2 separate regions of the Homo sapiens genome follow, and region 2 is linked to region 1. Evidence: promoter capture Hi-C in human tissues and cell types (Jung and others, 2019). All regions are on one chromosome and are shown on one strand. Each heading gives the region's core, a stretch centred on a gene start or on the middle of the fragment in contact. The rest is flanking DNA. Distances are from core to core; before and after follow the strand shown. Region 1 holds the start of B3GNT4 (UDP-GlcNAc:betaGal beta-1,3-N-acetylglucosaminyltransferase 4). Region 2 has its middle 13 kb from the start of IL31.

Region 1 (2,835 bases), core at 137-2,636:
CAGCAGGTTTACAGTAGGAAGAGGCCAGCCCGGCTAGTGAAAGAGCTAAGGGTTTTGTTGGTTTTTTTTGAGACAGTGTCTCTGTCACCCAGACTCTAGTGCAGTGGCACAATTATAGCTCACTGCAGCCTGGAACTCCTGGGTTCAAGCGATCCTCCGGCCTCGGCCTCCCCAGTAGCTGGGACTACAGGCGTGCAGGGCCCGGCTAATTTATTTTTTGTAGAGATGTGGTATCTTTTGTTGCCTGGGCTGGTCTGGAACTCCTGGCCTCAAGCGATCCTCCCGCCTTGGCCTCCCAAAGCGTTGGGACTACAGGCGTGAGCCACCGGCCAGAGTTTTCTGAGCCCCCTGGAGATCTATGCGGGGGTGGGGGACAAGGGGGTCTGGCAGAGGCGGTGAAAGAATCTGACCTTTGGTAAAAGGCCACTCCTACCGCCCCTTCCCTGGTGGGCTGCGGAAGGCTGGGGAGGAAGCATGAACGGCAGCTGGAGACTGTCTCCGTGCTCAGGATGCCGGGCGGCGGCGGCGGCGGGGTCGAAGCGAGATGAGTCTCAGGTGTGCGAGCACCGCGGGCTGTGGACGAGAGGCCCGGGCGGGCGGCGGTGCCATTCACCGAGAAGGGCGCACAGCAGGTGGCTTGGTTCCGTCCCAGGAGGTTTCAGCCCAGGCTGCGCCGCGGCCCGGGTGGCCCCTGTCCCGCCGCGGGCGTCCCCAGGCGCTGGCCGCACGGCCTCGCCCCGCCGCCCTCCGAGCCGCGGAGACCCCAGAGCCCGGCTCTCCACCCGCCGCGGAGCGCACGACCCCGTCTGGTGGGGCGCGGGTCCTGAGGCTGCGCTCGGCCTTGGGCGGCAGCCGCCTCGGATCCCCACAGGACTCGGTGACCCAAAACGCCCTGGCGCGGGCAGGGGGCGAACTCTGGTTCATTCTTTCAACGCGACAGTCTCCGAAGGGCTGACGGCAGCAGAGACCCACTCTGCGGGGACCCCCGGGCCGGGGTTGGCAGCAGCGCTGCGCGTCGGGCGCGGGCGGCCCAGGCTGGCGGGGTCTACCGCGCCCGGCTCCAGCCTCTGTCCCCAGCCTGGAGAACCGAAGCCGAGCGGCCCGTGGGCCCCGAGCCGTGCCCGCCGAGGCCAGACTCGCGCCGCACCCGGGCGGGGCCGGCGTCCTCGCGGGGACCCTGGGGGACCGGGGAGCGGGCCGCGGGGTGCAAAGGCACGGCCGCCCTGGCGACGCCCCTCCCTGCACGGTGACCCAGCCTCCCTCACAGCAGCGGCGTCCCGGCCCCCAACCTACCTGAGCGTGACGCCGGGGTACGGGCGTGGAGCTCGTGCAGCGGAGCCAGGGCGGATGGCGCCCAGGTGCGCGGAGCTCTCGGGGCTCGGGAGTGGGCGGGGCTTCTGGAGGAGGTGGGAATTTGGGGCGGGGTTCTGGCGGGGGCGGGTTTGGGGCCTCCCCGGACCCAGCCGCGGGTCTCCGCAGCGCCGGAGGCTGGACGCACGCGTCCCGCGCCCGGTCCTGGGGTCCGCACGAGCCGGGTCGGGCAGAGGCTGCTCCTCCTCCCCAGGACGCCGGCGCCACACCCGCCCCCCGACGCGTGCGGCGGGACAGAAGCGGAGGCGGGAGTGCTGGGAACAGCCTTTACTGCCCACGCCCTACACGGCGAACATGCGCAGAGCCTCCTCCGCCGAGCGGCACTGGTTCAGCTGGATCTGCACCTCTACGGTCAGGGGCTCAGGGTGGTAATCGCCTTCGTAGATCGGAATCACGGCTTTCGGCTTTTCTGAGAAAATTTAAGTGCGAGCATGAGCCCCGGGAGACGGATGGGCTGGCGTTCTCGGCCGCCCTGACCCATCCCATATGCAAGCCCTGGACCCTGTCCCAGCGGGAGCACAGTTTTGGTCCTCGGGTGTTAACAGTAATAAGAAATAAAATTAAATTGTATTTAATTAGATCATTTAATAAATCGCAGCTGTTTGAGTTGCAAGACTGGCTGCTTTTTGCTTTGAGACAGTGTCGTGCTCCGTCGCCCAGGCTGGAGTGCGGTGGCATGATCCCGGCTCACTGCAACCTCCGCCTCCCAGGTTCAAGCGATTCTCCTGCGTCAGCCTCCAAGTAGCTGGGATTACAGGCGCCTGTCACCACGACCGGCTATTTTTTGTAGTTTTAGTAGAGACGGGGTTTCACCATGTTGGCCAGCCTGGTCTCGAACTCCTGACCTCAAGTGATCCGCCTGCCTAGGCCTCCCAACGTGCTAGGATCACAGGCGTACACTACCGAGCCCAGCTGCAGATATTTTCTTAAAAATGAAGTAATTATAGCACTTCAGGGGAAACAACTGAAAGCATTTCAATAAATGTATAACATTTGCCCTAAAAATGAGACAACATTGTATCTGCCACCATGAATTTACCAATTTTCCAATACGCAAAGACCTTTCTAATGATGTGGGTGGTGATAGTAAAGAACGTGATCTTTGGAAAATGTATAGTGACAGGTGTCAACTGTTGGAATATCTGCATAAGTCTGTTAACCTGTAGTTTACAAGTAACTCATGCATGTTACAAACTGCATGGTAAAATATCCGTTCAAAATGCAAACTAGATTAATGAATTTTAATCTGATTATGAAAAATTCAATATAGATTGTTTTCACATTGTAACAACCTTTAAGAAATTACCACTTGTCAAATTTGGTGTAATATTAAAGAAATTATATTATTTTAAGGTCTATTAAAATACTCCCTCTTTTCCAATTATGGGCCTGAGGTTGGATTTTCTTTGTGCACGTCAATTACAGCAACATATTGCAAGCAGTTGACTGCAGAAGTAGCTGTAA
Region 2 (2,835 bases), core at 109-2,608, 43 kb after region 1:
GAGGGAAAAGAGGAGGGAGCAGGGGATTCAGGGAGCTGTCCCACCACAGGCAGGTCTGACTCTTGCTGGAGGACAGGATGAAGGAAGGAAAGGAGGTTGGGGGCAGCGTCTCAGCCTACGGTGCCATCCTGGGAGACTTCAGCACGAATGTGGGAAAATCCTAAGAGAAGCCTGGGTCTCCCAGGAACGAGCCAGCCTCAGCATCCCTGCCATGCTGTCTCTAGATGGGAGAAGCCTGCGGGAAGCGGGGTCTCCATGTGCTGGGTGATGGATTTCCGGGCACAGCAGCTGGGGGCCCTGGGTCAATTATACTTCCCAGAGTGGGAAATCTGAGGGGCACACTTTCACGGCTGCTATACAACCCCGATGACTGAAAATAAGGCAATGAACAAACAGTGGCCGCTCAAAGTCATTTTATCAAAGAATGTTTACTGGCAGGGTAAAATGCTTCAAGTATGACGTTAATTTATAAAAGCAGGTTATAAAATATATTTATGACGATCCCCCATTGAGTTAAAAAATATGTCTGTTGGGGGAACACGGATGGAGTTGGAGGCCATCATCCTCAGCAAACTAACGCAAGAACAGAAAACGAAATACCACACGTTCTCACTTATAAGTGGGAGCTAGATGATGAGAACCGATGACCACAAAGAAGGAAACAACAGACACTGGGGTTTACTGGAGGGGGAGGGTGGAGGCGGGCAGGAGGGTGGGGGGGAAGAGGGAGAGGAACAGGCAGAGAAGATAACTGTTGGGTACTAGGCTTAATACCTGAGTGATGAAATAATCTGTATAAATAAACCCCCATGACACAAGTTTACTTGTTCATTTTCTTTTTTTGAGACAGAGTTTCGCTCTTGTCACCCAGGCTGGAGTGCAGTGGCGCCATCTCAGCTCACCGCAACCTCTGCCTCCCGGGTTCAAGTGATTCTCCTGCCTCAGCCTCCCAAGTAGCTGGGATTACATGTGCTGCCACGCCCGGCTAATTTTATATTTTTAGTAGAGACAGGGTTTCTCCATGTTGGTCAGGCTGGTCTTGAACTCCCGACCTCAGGTGATCCACCCACCTTGGCCTCCCAAAGTGCTGAGGTTACAGGCATGAGCCACCACGCCTGGCAGTTCATTTTCATACTGCTATAAAGACATACCTGGGGCCAGGCACAGTGGCTCACACCTGTAATCCCAGCACTTTGGGAGGCCGAGGCAGGTGGATCACAAGGTCAGGAGATTGAGACCATCTTGGCTAACATGGTGAAGCCCCATCTCTACTAAAAATACAAAAAATTAGCTGGGCGTGGTGGCGGGCGCCTGTAGTCCCAGCTACTCGGGAGGCTGAGGCAGGAGAATGGCGTGAACCCGGGAGGCGGAGCTTGCAGTGAGCTGAGATCGTGCCACTGCAGTCCAGACTGGGAGAGACAGCGAGACTCCATCTCCAAAAAAAAAAAAAAAAAAAAGGCATATCCGAGACTTGCTATTTTATAAAGAAAAGAGGTTTAATTGACTCACAGTTTTGCAGGGCTGGGGAGGCCTCAGAAAATTTACAACCATGACAGAAGCGGAAGAGACACTTCTTACATGGCCGCAGGCGAGAGAGAGTGGTGAGCAAAGGAAGAAGCGCCCCCTTATAAAACCATCAGAGAGAACTCACTCATTATCACGAGAACAGCATGGGGAAAACTGCCCCCGTGATCCAATCACCTCCACCTGGCTTCTCGCTAGACACGTGGGGATTACAATTCCAGATGAGATTTGGGTGGGGACATAAAGCCTAACCATACCATGTTGCTATGTAACAAACCTTCACATGTACCCCTGAACCTAAAATATAAGTTTAAAATAAAGTGTCTGTGTGTGTGTGTGTGTCCACCTATCTTACATATAGACAGAAAGCAAGACTGGCAAAAAAAAAAAAAAATCTTTGGGCAGGGGGAGAATTTTTCTTTTTTTGTTTTTTCTTTTTGATCTCAGTGGTGCGATCTCAGCCCACTGCAATCTCCGCCTCCTGGGCTCAAGCGATTCTCCTGCTTCAGCCTCCTGAGTAGCGGGGATTACAGGTGCCCACGACCACACCAGGCTAATTTTTGTATTTTTAGTAGCGATGGGGTTTCACCTTGTTGGCCAGGCTGGTCTCAAACTCCTGATCTCAGGTGATCCACCCACCTCGGTCTCCCAAAGTGCTGGGATTACAGGCATGAGCAACCATGCCTGGCCAAGAATTTTCTTTATATTTTAATGTATTTTCCAAATTTTCTAAAGTTAGTATGTATTATTTTAGAAATCAGTCAAATAAACATGATTTCAAGTTTTAAAAAAGAAATAGCACTTGGAGAGAAGGTGAGAAATGGAGAGGTGTGAAGGCTTTTCCAAGTGTTGGTAATAAGGTAAGAAAAGACTTTAGCACCCCCAGGTGTCTTACTGTAGCAGTGGGTTTGTGACATTGGTGTTTCTTCTCAACCATCTCTGACACCAGGCTCAGCTCCACTGTCCCCAGCTCTTTATCTGCTCTTCGGATCTCCCCGCTGAATGGACAAAGCAGTCCCCTGGCGTGACTCCTTGTAGAACCAATTTTGCAGTAAAACCAATGCAATATTATTTCTCTCAGCCCTTTTACGCACTACCCAAAATGACAGTACTTTATAGTGAGAAGGAATACTTAGAATGACAATTCTGAGGCTCTTCAAGATCCCAACGTTATTAATTTCCTATTCAATGGCCCTGGAAACATTTTCCCCCAACAGCATTAGTGCTAAGAGCAGCTATTCTTGGATTCAGTTTCTGGTCCTTTACTTACTATATGTGACATAACCTTAGACAAACAACTTCATCTCTAAA

The links. The method cuts DNA at HindIII sites, captures the fragments that hold promoters and counts their contacts. A contact is called where the count stands out against the background at its distance.
Region 2: a fragment that was not itself captured here is called in contact with the fragment with the promoter of B3GNT4 in region 1 in 2 of the 25 tissues and cell types used here (dorsolateral prefrontal cortex and small bowel).

What each region holds. Positions count from the first base shown.
Region 1 is chr12:122,202,260-122,205,094 of GRCh38, reverse strand. B3GNT4 (UDP-GlcNAc:betaGal beta-1,3-N-acetylglucosaminyltransferase 4) reads right to left here and starts at 1,386. Exons shown (of 3, transcript NM_030765.4): 1 at 1,294-1,386; 2 at 411-573. The coding sequence starts at 476. LRRC43 (leucine rich repeat containing 43) reads right to left here. Exons shown (of 12, transcript NM_001098519.2): 12 at 1,624-1,780. The coding sequence ends at 1,653. RefSeq lists a silencer at 1,072-1,701. The HindIII fragment of the contact is 16,495 bases long and covers 1-2,835 here.
Region 2 is chr12:122,159,702-122,162,536 of GRCh38, reverse strand. No RefSeq gene overlaps it. Among named protein-coding and RNA genes, the nearest start is that of IL31, 13 kb to the left of the region's middle. The HindIII fragment of the contact is 8,474 bases long and covers 1-2,835 here.